Linked DNA regions of Homo sapiens: region 2 is linked to region 1. Evidence: promoter capture Hi-C in human tissues and cell types (Jung and others, 2019). All regions are on one chromosome and are shown on one strand. The core of a region is centred on a gene start or on the middle of the fragment in contact, and the rest is flanking DNA. Distances in the headings are between cores, read along the strand shown. Region 1 holds the start of NEK9 (NIMA related kinase 9). Region 2 overlaps DLST (dihydrolipoamide S-succinyltransferase).

Region 1 (6,943 bases), core at 1,361-3,860:
CATACTTAATTTGCATGATGTCAGTTCCAGGTAAAAATATGGGCTGGGGATAGATCTCAAAAAGATTCTATTGAGGATACTATGACAGACTGCTAATCATGATGGTGATTATGGCAGGGCAAGAATACTGGAGAAGCAGAGAACTGGGGAGCAATTATCTATAGCTGGTCCCAGCTTCTAAAATGAAAATACTAAACTTGCCTCTAGTTTTATAAATTTAGACTTCCCTAGTGATTTTCACCTACCCTTTCTGGATAAGAGAAGTCATGACCCCTTTTGCAACTCTATAATCTCCTCTCATACTTTTATGTATCCTGTAGCTCCTGATGTCTACTATCTTTTTTTTTTTTTTTTTTTAAGAGATAGGGTCTCACTCTGTTGCCCAAACTAGAGTGCAGTCATAGCTCATTTCAGCTTTGAACTCCTGGGCTGAAGCAATCCTCCCACCTCAGCTTCCCCAGTAGTTGGGACTACAGGCACGCACTGCCACACTCAGCTAAATTTTTTTTTTTTTTTTTTAAGAGATGGGGTATCACTGTGTTGCCCAGGCTGGTCTAGAACTCCTGGCCTCAAGCGACCCGACCACCTTGGCCTCCCAGGTGTTGGGATTATAGGCATGAGCCACTGTGCCTCGCCTCATTCTTTGCTGACCCTGCTTCCTAGCCCAGGAGCATCTCCACCTATGTAACCCTCCCCATCCTTTTGAATGCCTCTGCCAAGCCTTTACAGTGTTTTTGAAAAGACTCTGATGAAGCTTTTACTGTAACCATGTCTTTAATTTTTAGACCCCATACACTGAAATGATATTTGTTCATTCTTTTCATATCTCTACATATGCAACTTAATGCTATTTGTTTACTAACAATGGTCAACTTATTTTCCTACTGAAATATAAGCTTCTAGAGAAAAAGAGTGCTTCTGAACTTTTGTAAATTCACAGATCTAATAAATATTTGGTGATATGGACAACGCTATGCAATTTTTGGGAAGTGTAATCAAATTTAACTCAAAACCAACCCAGTAATCAAGTTCAACAGGATAATAATAAAAAGGCAATGGGCAAGATGTGAGACTTTAGTTCTAGTCCAAGATTTACTTGTAACTTAAGTGAGCAAGTCACTTAAGTATACTGTTTTAGTTTCTCTAACTAAAATATAGAAATAACAATCCTTATCTCCTCTTTCTCATTTTGAGTGCAAAAAAGAAAACAGACTACTAAGAATAACTAACTCTAACATCATACATTAACGTGGCATCAGGATAAAAAAGAACACTTAAAAATATTCTCTTGCAACCACTTCTCTCCTTCTCCATCTTTCAGCCTTAAAAGTATGCTGGCTTGGAACACACACCAGAACTGCAGATGGATTTCCGACGGATGAATCACCTTCAGCAACCCCAGCAAGTTCTCATTAAATGTTTACCCTAAAGTAAGATTTTATGATCAAATCTAGTGTATCGTTAGTTTTTGGAAGTAGAATAATCACTGCAGGGTTTTACACTAGTATATATTAACTTGGGATTCCGTGATCCATGGATCTCTCCAAAGGATGTGCATATGTGCAAATGTGTTGATGGAGGGGGCAAGATTACTTTGCTTAGGTTATCAAAGGGGTCCTTGTGCCCCCCAAATTAAGAACTAATGGCTTAGAATATACCAACAAAGTATTTCCCATGCATAAACCCTGCAAGATAAACACTGATAAAGAACCAACACACAAAGATCTTCCCAATGAGCTTCAAGAAAAGCTTCCAACTGAGTGATCACTGCTGAACTTAAAGATAATGACAAAAATAACGGAGTTGCCACGGGTGTGGGGATTTTGAAGCTATGCCCCTCCTCCTCACCCCGACCTTGGAGAACTATATATACAGCATGAGAGGAAGGAAGTTTTGGCAATACCTCACATTCGTATACCACTTTAATTTACAGAACAGAGCCTTCGTTTGATTCTCAAGATAATCTTAAAAAAAAAAGAAAAAGATGATTTCAAGGTATTATCAGTAAGCCCATTTTACAGATGGGGAAACTAAAGCTCAAGAGACGGTTAGGTGACTTAGGACAATCAAAAATGACTAGTCAAACCAATGATCTAGCCAATTTCTAGTGCCGGTGAGTGGGAAGAGTGGTGAAGACCCTAAGACATATACCCCGTGGGCGCCTAAAGCACTAAGCTCACGACGCTGGGAAAGCGGGGCCGAGAAGGAGGGACTCGGGGCGACCCGACAGCGCCAGACAGGGCGGCCGGCGCCGAGGGCCGCTACCTCGGTGCGGCGGTACAGCGTGGCTTCCCCGAAGGCGCCGCGGCCCAGGACGCGGATGGGGATGTAGTGCAGTTCCTCCTGCTCCGCCGCGCCGCCGCCGGCTCGCGGCCCCTGACTGGCGCTAGGCCCCGGACTCGAGTCCCCGCAACCCCCGGACTCGCTCCCAAAGTCCGAGTTGATGGAATCGCAGTGTCGCTCGTACTCGCCCAGCACCGACATGGCGGCGGCCGCGGGCCTTGGGGACCAGCCTGCGTATGCCCGGAGGCCCTGGCCGCGCTGCGTCCCGCTCGCTTCAGATGCCGGCCCGCGGATCCGTCAGCCCAGCAACCCCGCGAAGCTCGATGGTGGCTCCTGCCCCCCGACCCGGAAACAGTTCTCTGTGTTTCCGGCCTGGCTGAGTTTCCTCCGCCTTTGCTTACCCTCTTGGCTAGTCTAGCGGCCAAGGCTTCCCGCTTTCGGGGAAGGCCTGCAAAGTGAGGCCTCGGGCTAGGGTTGGCGGGCGCGTGGTGGGAACCGCGTGGAACCGAAGGGCTCCCACGGGAACAAGGGCATCACTGACGGTACGGCCTCTCGGGTCTATTGACCCTTCTCTGCCTCCCCGGTCCGGACTCATACAACTTGGAGGCCCAGAGGTCGTCCAGTCTCATCTTGACGTCAGGTCTGTGACAAGAGGGTGATTGGGGAAGCATTCCCAGTGTACACCTTCTTCCCCATTCCAACGTTGGACAGCATTCTTTTTTAGAGAGATAGTATAGTAAAGATAATATGGCCGGGCAAGGTGGCTCACGCCTGTAATCTCAGCATGTTAGGAAGCCGAGGCGGGCGGATCACCTGAGGTCAGGCGTTTGAGACCAGCCTGACCAACTGGTGAAACCCCGTCTCTATAAAATACAAAAATTAGCCAGGCGTGGTGGCAGGCACCTGTAATCCCAGCTACTCCAGAGGCTGAGGCAGGTGAATCACTTGAACCCGGAAGGAGGAGGTTGCAGCGAGCCGAGATCGCGCACTACACTCCAGCCTGGATAACAGAGCGAGACTTTGTCTCAAAAAAAAAAAAAATAATAATAATATAGACAGCCTAAATGTCTGCCTCCGGTCATCTCGGTCCCTGGGCCGAGTTCTTTCTCCCAGGGCCATCCTAAGTCCCTCCCTCTTCTACACAACTCCAAAAATATTTTAAGTCAACTCTCCTGACACTTTCCTTCTCCCCCGTCTCTTTTTCCAGATTCAATTTATTCTATGTGTTTTTCCAGATATTTGACCATATGATATCATGAAACATTCTTTGAGCACTTGGTGCCACACACTGTTTGGGAACAGGAAATCTGCAATAATGTTCTCCCTACCGTCAAGTAGGAAAACAGCAATACGGTGAACAATAGGTGTTCCATCAGTTATGTGACCTTGGGCAATTATGTGACCTTGGGCAACTTCTCATCTCCAAGCTTGTTTTGTTGTGAGAATGTGGTCTACATCACAGACATAACAGCTAACATTTATTGAGTGTTATGTTCTGGGTACTATGCTAAAGGTTTTTTACGTATTATCTCACATTATTATGTATTATCCTATGTATTATGTATTATGTATTATCCTAACATTCCCATTTTACAGAAACAGAGGTACCTAAGTAACCTGCTTAATGTGACAGACCTAGTAAGAGGGAGCTGGGAAGTTGAACCCAGCAATCTGAAAAAGCAGGATGTGATGGGGCTAAGAGAAAGCCATGTGCCTAGCCGGGCGTGGTGGCTCACACTTGTAATCCCAGCACTTTGGGAGGGCCGATCACTTGAAGCCTGGAGTTCGAGTTCAGCCTGGCCAACATGGTGAAACCCCGTGTCCACTAAAAATACAAAAATTAGCCAGGCGTGCACACACCTGTAATCCCAGCTACTTGGGACGCTGAGGCACAAGAATTGCTTGAACTGGGGAGGCGGAGGTTGCGGTGAGCCAAGATCATGCCACTGCACTCGAGCCTGGGCAACAGAGTGAGAACCTGTCTCAAATACATAAAAATACATTGTGTCATATCGATTTGTGAAAAGTTCCTACTTTAAGAGAGCTTACATGTAACAGAAAACCACCAGGCAATTAAAACAGTTTCTATAAGGGCTATTAAAGTGCAAGATTCTAGAGAGGCATTTAGGAGTGGCATCTGTCCAAGCCAAACTTGCTGTGTGAGTGCAGGAATATACAAAATGTTAAGTCTAAACAAAGTAGAGAGATCATTTCAGGTAGAGGCCATTCCATCTACATCCTCCTATTAATTAGAAGGCACTTTGAGGATAGGTATTGCCTCTTGTTTATCTAGATAAACTCCAGAGTTTAGTTTGGCTTAAATCTGTTAATTCTATTAACTTAATTCTGTTATTCTCGATTAACTCTGTTAAACAGAAAAGATGCTCAATAAATTGTTTCTCAGTTGAATGGGAAAAAACCAATTACTTAAAATTGGGAATGCTGACTTTCAAAGAGGCTGAATAGATTTCAGCCTAAGCTTAAAAATTCATTTTTTTCTGGCACCTTTGCAACGAGGAACTAGTTTTCTATAACGTGGTTGGCCTGAAACTGAATTGTTCTAATGATAATGCATAGATACTACAAGCCTAGAAGAAACATGTCCTATTATAGAGCAGAGACATTCCTGCTGAATTCTTCATTATATTGGATATAACTGAAACTAATTGTCTTACCTTTGAATATTTATAAGTTCAAAAATAGTCAACATTTATTCTAATGGTATAACTTTTTTTTTTTTTTTGGAGACAGTCTCACTCTGTCACTCAGGATGGAGTGCAGTGGCATGATCTCAGCACACTGCAGCCTCCACCTCCCAAGTTCAAGTGATTCTCATGCCTCAGTCTCCTGAGTAGCTGGGATTACAAGCGTCCGCCACCATGCCCAGCTAATTTTTGTATTTTTAGTAGAGAGGGCATTCTGCCATGTTGGCCAGGCTGGTTCTCGAACTCCTGACCTCAAGTGATTGGCCTGCTAAAGTGTTGGGATTACAGGTGTGAGCCACTGCACCTGGCCAAGGTGTAAAATTTTAAAGCGCCTTTGGTTGAAACCAAACTATTTCCACATTGTACTTTAACAAGTGAATGGTTAGAATGCTATTTTGCATTAGTTTCCAATTTGTGAATGGCAAATTCCCAGGGGCCATAGAGTTACTGTCAAGATGAAAGAATCTACCAAAGACCAACCCAAGTTTATACCCTTCACTGTCTGCCACGGTAGCCATTAGCTACATATAGCTACTCAACACTTGAATTGTGGCTAGTCTAATTTTAAGCTATAGATGCGGTATAGCTTGAAATGCACACTGGATTTTCAAGATTTTATATGAAAAATGGAATGCAAAACATCTCATTAACCATTTTTATATTAACTATATGTTGAAATAATATTTTGGGTATATTAGGTTAAATACACTACTAAAAATAATTTTCGGCTGGGCACAGTGGCTGATGCCTATAATTCCAGCACTTTGGGAGGCCAAGGTGAGCAGACCACGAGGTCAGGAGTTCGAGACCATCCTGGCCAACATGGTGAAACCCCATCTCTACTAAAAATACAAAAATTACCTGGGCGTGGTGGCATGTGCCTGTAATCCCAGCTACTCGGGAGGCTGGAGAATCAGCAAATTTTACCTGTTTTTTACTTCTTTAATGTGATACTAGAAAATTTAAAATTATACATGCAGCTCAACATTTTATGAGACACCACTGCAGCAGACTAAATAAATGATTTATAAAGCATGTATTGGGCCGGGCACGGTGGCTCACGCCTGTAATCCCAGCACTTTGGGAGGCTGAGGTGGGTGGATCACGAGGTTGGGAGTTCAAGACCAGCCTGGCCAACATAATGAAACTCCATCTCTACTAAAAATACAAAATTAGCTGGGCGTGCTGGTACATGCCTGTAATCCCAGCTACTCGGGAGGCTGAGGCAGGAGAATTGCTTGAACCCGGAAGGCGGAGGTTGTGGTGAGCCGAGATCATGCCATTGTACTCCAGCCTGGGCAACAAGAGTGAACTCCGTCTCAAAAAAAAAAAAAAAGAAAAGAAAAAAAAATTATACCCCAATAATGGGAACCACTACTTTACACACTATGGATTCATAATAAAATTTATTTGAGGGAGAATGGAGATAAGAGGATAAATAAGAGGCCAGCCAGTGGGTGTGCAAAGCACTTCATATTGGCTCTTGGAAAGTCGCTTTGTGAAAAATGTTCAACTGTAAGTGAAAGGAGAGGAGAAAAGACGTTTACCTCCTGGAGTGGGGTTTTGCATTGGATATGATAGGCCTAAAAAGTGAGTCCTGAGGATTCATATACCGGGGGTGGGGGGTGGGGGTCTTTTAGGAATGAAAGGCAGGGGAGATGGCTCTCTGTAGGAGTGATTCTATGCAATTGCAATTTTAATTGCAAAAACCACAATTACTTTTGTGCGAACCTAATAGTAACAGTTTCCAAAAGAGAGAAGATAAAGAGAATAAAATGCCTAGCTTACAGAACCATATTTGGTCTGAGGATGCATAATTAAGGATTCTTAATTATATATATATATATAATTTACATATATTACATACAAAATATGATAATCTTTTACTAGCTCATATAAACTATCGATCTGCAGTAACTGAAGAATAACAATATTTTTTCTCTAATTCATCAGGT
Region 2 (6,943 bases), core at 1,866-4,365, 220 kb before region 1:
CTAGCGCTTGTGCCATCGATCTCGATACAAGCTTTCTGGACTTCCTTTGCTTTTTTGTTTTTAGAGGCAGGGTCTCGCTGTGTTGCCCAGGCTGGAGTAGAGTGGTAGAGTCATAGCTTACTGCAGCCTTGCACTCCTGGGCTCAAGCGATTCTCCTGCCTCAGCCTCCCAAGTAGCTGGGACTACAGGTGTGCACCACCATGCCTGGCTAATTCTTAAGTTTTTTATACAGATGGGGGTCTCACTATGTTGCCCAGGTTGGCCTTGAACTCCTGGCCTCAAGCAGTCCTCCTGCCTCGGCCTCCCAAAGCGCTGGGATTATGGACTGACTTTAGGTGAAGGAAACTGGGTTGGCTTGATATTTCAATTATGAAATCTGTTTTTAGGCCCGAAAGAATGAACTTGCCATTGAAGATATGGATGGCGGTACCTTCACCATTAGCAATGGAGGCGTTTTTGGCTCGCTCTTTGGAACACCCATTATCAACCCCCCTCAGTCTGCCATCCTGGGGATGCATGGCATCTTTGACAGGCCAGTGGCTATAGGAGGCAAGGTAGGAACCGTCACTTCTAAGGTCCTAGTGGCTAGGTCTCGATGAAAGGGAAATCCAACTAAATGCTAATTGTAAAACATTAACTATAATTTCAGGCCTAAGTTCCATTTCTTAGTTTCTAATAGCTAAGGCACTGATTATCAAATTGTGGTCTGGATCAGCATCATCTGGGACCTTATTAGAAATGCATATTCTTAGACCCCATCCCAGACTTAAAGAAGAAGTGCAGATGATCCTGATGCATATTCAAGTTTGAGAACCACTGAGCTGAGGAGGCTTGTTTGCTTCTATGGAGTGGGGGATATAGTTGGAAACGTGGTCCCTTGCCCCTGGGAAACAGATGACAATTATGCATGTCAGTCTGTGAGCTGCCAAGTTGTATGATAAAGCTTGTAAATTTCCCGGGAGTTCAGAGAATTAAGTATTAAAAGGGGCTTGAGCTGGCCCTTAGAAGATACGTTGGTATCAAAAAAGCTTTCTGGGAACTCCTGTGTTTAGAATCCTTTTGGGTTACTGACTCCTGTGTGAAACCACAGTCTGTAGATCTTCCTGGAAAATGCCCATACACCCAGCTACACATACAATTCCAGAATTTGTAGACCCTGGCTTAATTTTTTTTTTTTTTTTTAAATTCTAACCCCAGAGAGAAGCAAGTACAGGCAGCCAGAACTGAAGGGAAAACTTTCCTTGTAGGCAGCAGATGCGTTAGAGGGCAGAGTATGTTTTTAAAAAATAAAAGGCAGTTGTGAGAAGACAGTTTTCTTGGCAAACTTTGTTTCTGAGTGGGGAAGCTTTGCACTGAGGGTAAGTCCTGGTCTTTGAAATACTGTAAATATGCAGAGGCAACATCAATAGGAAAGGCTCTGGAATTAGGAACTTTCTTATGGGCTGTGCTAAATCTCCTTCAGCGAGGCTGGCTGTGGCTTGCTGGAGACAAACCTATTTACCTTTCCTCTCTGTAGGTAGAGGTGCGGCCCATGATGTACGTGGCACTGACCTATGATCACCGGCTGATTGATGGCAGAGAGGCTGTGACTTTCCTCCGCAAAATCAAGGCAGCGGTAGAGGATCCCAGAGTCCTCCTCCTGGATCTTTAGGAGGAACCCACACACCCTACAAGTTGATCATGCAGGAACTGAAAACCAGTCTTCTCCCTGTCCCCTCATGGGTCCCGGGTTAGCCTGGTGACAGGCAGACACATGCTGTTGGCCTCAAGCAAGGAAGCAGAGCACTGTGTAACCAGCAGTCACAGGTCTTTTCTTGGCGTTCCTGCCAGGCTCTCCCTCTCTGCACCTGTCTCATAGCCTCGAATATCTTAATTCCTTAGGCTTAAGAGAGAGAGCCTTAATGGATGCTCATTCATATTCCTGCCTTTCTTCCATCAGCTCTCTGCAAAGATGATTTTGCTTTTCCCTAGTGCTGGTATACTATAGAGAAACCCCTGGGGACCATGTGATTAAGTTCCTATCTTTTGAAAGTTTGTTCTGCAGAGACTTCTAGGAGGATGCTGTGCCTCCCAAGCTCAGAGCAGCCTCTGTCCTGGCTGTGCACATTCTCCCTTGATTCCACTTGTGTGGAGGGATTGAACACAGGCAAAGAGGTGCTGCTTTGCTTCTTCAATGGCACCTTCATTCTCCGTTGTCATTGACTTCAAGATGCCTCTTCTACCTCTTCCAGGAAGCACAGGCCAGGGGATCTGGGTGTGTGAGTGGGAGGAGAGGGCAGAGGTCCCCTGAGGTCATGCATTGTAATCATCATAGAAGGAGAGCCCAGGCCTGCCCTCACGCTCTCCATCATAGGCTGACACCAAGAAGACTCGTCTTGGCACAATCTCACACAGCTGGGGCTGTAGCAACCCTTTCCAACCCCTTTGCTGGTTGCTGGGCCTCATTCTAGCACCTTGTTCTTAGAGCAGATTCTAGCACATCATGGCAGTGGGACCAAGCGTGGTCCCGAGGAAGGGCCAGAGCCTGGTAGAGACTAGGGAAGGGAGGTCTCCTCTAGACTGACTCACATTGCCTTGAGCTTTTCAGTTAAGTTGCTGTAAGCACCTGGGCTGAGGAGGCAGTTTTTGTTCCTTCCTGCGTTATAGCGGGGCCTTGTCTCTTCCTCTGCAGGACACAGATCTGGAGGACGTGGACTGGGGTAGGAAACCACCCTGAGGGTGTTAGTACCTAGTGGTGAAACGGATGAGGTCATTTCTAAGGTGTGTTGCCCGTGGATCTGGGCACAATCATTGGAATTCCTTGGAGCCACTGGGATTCATGGCTTTGTATCCAACTGCATCCAGGCCTGAGGCTGCTGACGTTTGACACCAGGGCCAGTAGAGAGTGCCCTTTTGTATCTTAAGCCAAGAAGTGAGGCCTGGGGGTGGGGGAGGGGGGAAGGGGTGGGAGCCAATACTGAGTGCCTGCAGCATCTACTACTCTGTCTTCACTATTCAGAACTTGTAACTAAAGTATTTAAAGAAACTGATTTTAAATGCAAATTAAAGGGCAGATATTCTCAAACAGGGTTCCTGTATCTGTTCCTTTTGGCTACTGAGGTGGTACAAGTCCCCAGCACTGTTGCACTGAAATTATTGAAAGCCACTCAAGGTCCTGTTGCTTATTTTGTGAAATCAGAAATCCCTTATGTGGAACTTAACACTCATAATTTGACAGAAGGTAGAACCCTGACTGCCAGCCGGGAAAGTGTTGCCAAAAAGAGTCAACCTCTGTAAAAATATTTGAAGAGATTTATTCTGAGCCAAGTGTGAGTGACTGATGGCCTGTGATACAACTCTTAGGAGATCCTGAGAACATGTGTCCAGGGTCGTCTGGCTACAACTTAGTTTTATACATTTAATACATTTTAGGGAGACATAAGATACCAGTCAGTACATGTAAGATGTACAGTGGTTTGGTCTGGAGAGGCAGGACAGCTCAAGACCTGGGGATGTTGTCATAGGCAGAATCAAAGATTTTCTGATTGGCAATTGGTTGAAAGAGTTATTATCTAAAGACCTGGAATCAATAGAAAGGAATGTCTGGGTTACAGTAAGGGGTTGTGGAGACCAAGGTTTTATGCAGATGAAGCCTCCAGCCAGCAGGCTTCAGAGAAAATAGATTGTAAATGCTTCTCATCAGACTTAAGGAGCCTGTTTTAACAGTAATTCCAAAAGGGAGGGGAGTATAATGAGGAATGGCTGGCTCCCTCTTCCCACCATGGCCCGAACTAGCGTTTCAGGTTAACTTTGGAATACCCTTGACTGAGACGAGGGGTCCATACAGATGGTTGGGGGGCTTAGGATGTTTTTTGTTTTGTTTCCATAAAGCATCATAGTCTCTTAGTGCCCCACCTTCCTTGAGCCTGTCAAGCCATACTCTAGAATAGAGAATTTGGGGTCACCATCTTTGTGAAGCCCTTTCAAAACACCAGTAGACTTGCATTTTTTGTGTGGGCTTACATTATTTCAGTGATGGATTTGGGAGGAGTGGGGGCATCTCATTTCATTTGGATTTGATAGCCTTGTGGACCAAGATGCTCAAGGTCAATACACATGAACAGGTGAGGGTTGATGACCTAGGAGCAGTGGTCAGTGAGCGTGAGTGTACAGGGTGGGTAGCTAACCTAGACTGCAGGTGGCAGGTGTGATGGAGTCCAGGCTTAAACACAGCCTTGTCTTTTCCAGAGTCCCTGTCTGCTGAGCTCTTGCAGTGAGGCCATCCCTCTGTGAAGGTCTGTCACAGGAGGGAAGTGGGTCCCAGAGAGTAGAACTAGAGCTCTAGTAGATAGAAAAACAAATTAGGTTGAATGAAAGGAAGAACAGGATTTGGTGTTAGAAGCTTTAATTTATCTATCTGGTAAACCTGCAAAATAGGCATTATTTACCCCATTTTATCGAAAGGAGGTCGACTGTAAGAGCTGGGACCCACAGTATTCTAAACTCAGGGCCCAACAAAGTGTCAGATGTGTAGCTTTGGGTGGATGAAGCACAGAAGTTCCAGAAGGGACTTGTGCTTCATGAAGCGGTGGTTGGAAGTGGTCCAGCCTGACTTAGGGAGAGTAGCAGAAGGAACACTAACTTGCAACTCTGGCTAGGTTGTGTCCTTAACCTTTTTGAGCTTCAGTTTTCTCAGGAGCTACCGTCTGTTGCAAGGGGTCACTGTGAGGATGAAACTGGTATTCCCCCAGGCACCATGAGCCTCTTCCAAGGCTTCTTCATCCTCTTCCCCACAGAACCTGGTCCTCCCCGACCCCACCCCTTCCCCTGAGGCCCACATGGCATGCTGCTCACCACCAGCCCTGCGTCCTACTTCCTGGCAGCCCCAAGCTCGCTCTTGACTTCACTCTGGAGCTTCTACAGGGGAGCCTTCCAACCTGCCCCAATGAGCCGTGGTCATTGCATGGAAGAAGCGAGAACACCGTAGGCCAGAGCAGGCTTTATTGGGGCCGTGTAAACCCCAGGGAGAGGCAGGACGTGGACCACAGAGAGTCATGTACAGGCTGCGCTTTCACTTGTCTTCTCTGTCTCAGTCTCCTGAAGAGCCCGAGGAAGTCAAGTCTCCCCACCATGAGTGAGGGGTCTGGTCTGACAGTTGGGCCTTCAGAGCCAGGCACGTGGACCGTGTCAGAAGCGCCACCTGGTGGTGACTGGGATGCTGGCAGGGAGGAGCTGAGGGCAAAACTCTAGTGGAAATTTCCCAGGTCGGTCCCACGCCCCGGTGACAGGGTGAACCCTGAGAGGAGCCCCCAAACTGGAGGCAATTGTCTTTGAGGTAACCACTCACCCCAGCTTTTCAGAGACCAGAGGCAAGACATTTCTGGCTAAGAGCCATGGATAGTTGTTCCATGCGTTTTGTGGTTTCTTATCCCAAAAGGGCATGAAGTCACAGTAGGCAGTGACATGGTAAACAGCCAGGGCCTGAGAGGGAGTCCTGATGGGCACACCTTGTCTAAACTGCTTTGGCCTGGAAGCTGAATTGCTGTCCTCTTGCACCCCTGGGGCAGGCTGCCCCTCTTCCCCCACACAGGCCCACTGGGGAGGAGGACTCTTGATTCTGGTTTCAGACTTGCTCTAAGGGGCAGACCCATGCATTCCTTCCTCCCCCCATTACTCTTATTTTCTTCCCCTCCCTTTTGCTCTCCCAAGTCTGAAATCACAAGATAGGGGGCATGGTCAGGAATCGGGGGTGGGGGGGTGGGGGTGGGGGTCATCCTGTCCCCTACCTCATCCCTCCCTGCACAACAGATGGCATCCCTGCTTCTGGGCCTCCCCAGCTGCACGAACAGCTTCTGGTGGAAGAGGCCTACTCGCTGTGTGACTAAGAGGACTAGCCAGGACAGTCTGGTTTGGGTCCACTGAGCCAGTGGATCAGTGTCCTGAGATGAGTCTCCAGAGATGTCCTGAGTGGGGCACAACATGGCAGTGAGTGAGTCACAGAACCTCACAGTAGGGTGCAGCAGGTGGTCAACAGCTCAGCGCCAGTGCCACAGAAGGCAACCTTTAACATGGTGAGTCCACATGCTCAACGGGTCTGTTGACTGATGGGTAGATGGTTCAAGCTGCTTAGCAGGGCAAGCCTTGACTGCCCCCACCTCCAGCTTTTCCAGGAGCTGGCCCTTCCTGGGTGGTGGCCATAATTCTGAGGCCCCAGTGGGAGCCCAGCAGGACAGACAGTGCCCTCCATTCCTCGCCCAAAGCCCGCTGATAGAGGGCCAGCCCTGGGTTGGGTGTCAGGCAAGGAGGAGAGGCGATCCAGACCAGGCCAGCTGCTTCCGTCACCCGCTCTGCCCTCTTACCCCACCAGCTTGCTCCATTGGATGGTACTGAAAAAGGGATGGGACTTGAGTTTGCTGACACCACCTTCTCCCATGCCCAGGCGCCGGGTAGGCTCGAACTGCAGCAGCTGCAGAGAGAGGCCCAGTCAGCTGGGCCACTCCAGCTGTGGAGGCATGGGGTGACCTCCAGGGACTCCAACCACTATGGCCTCTAGGGGGCCTGCTCCCTGGCAGCCTGGCCCACAGAACCCCCATTTTACCCTGGGAACATTGGTGGTGGTTGGCCACCAACATATAGAAATGTGTTGCCCCTACTGCCCTCTGCACCCACATCAGACACTGAGCACGAAGCACACGTGGTTCAGACACAGTTCTGTGCCCCTCCCAGCACCTTCCTCAGGCTAGGCAGCTGCTTCCTCTGGCCGGGCTACACCTCACCTCAGTCAGCAGAGAGGCCGCTGGGCGACTGAGCCACTCGGGCAGCTGGAGCTGGGTGTGGGCCTGGATTCCTGAAGGGTGGCTCTGGGACAGTGCCTGGGAGGACACAGGGAAGGGCCTCTGAGGAGGCAACCCCAGGACCGTCTACACTCCAGTGGCAGCCAGGATTTTTTTTCCCCATGTCACAG

Evidence for each region. Contacts are between HindIII fragments. The study calls those that stand out against the background at their distance.
Region 2: a fragment that was not itself captured here is called in contact with the fragment with the promoter of NEK9 in region 1 in 1 of the 25 tissues and cell types used here (hippocampus).

What each region holds. Positions count from the first base shown.
Region 1 is chr14:75,124,438-75,131,380 of GRCh38, forward strand. NEK9 (NIMA related kinase 9) reads right to left here and starts at 2,611. Exons shown (of 22, transcript NM_033116.6): 1 at 2,266-2,611. The coding sequence starts at 2,484. RefSeq lists enhancers at 2,475-2,524, 2,535-2,664. The HindIII fragment of the contact is 2,914 bases long and covers 1,323-4,236 here.
Region 2 is chr14:74,900,680-74,907,622 of GRCh38, forward strand. It overlaps DLST (dihydrolipoamide S-succinyltransferase), which reads left to right. Exons shown (of 15, transcript NM_001933.5): 14 at 387-554; 15 at 1,517-3,064. The coding sequence ends at 1,651. RPS6KL1 (ribosomal protein S6 kinase like 1) reads right to left here. Exons shown (of 12, transcript NM_031464.5): 11 at 6,756-6,851; 12 at 3,272-6,445. The coding sequence ends at 6,335. Among named protein-coding and RNA genes, the nearest start is that of RPS6KL1, 19 kb to the right of the region's middle. The HindIII fragment of the contact is 5,256 bases long and covers 488-5,743 here.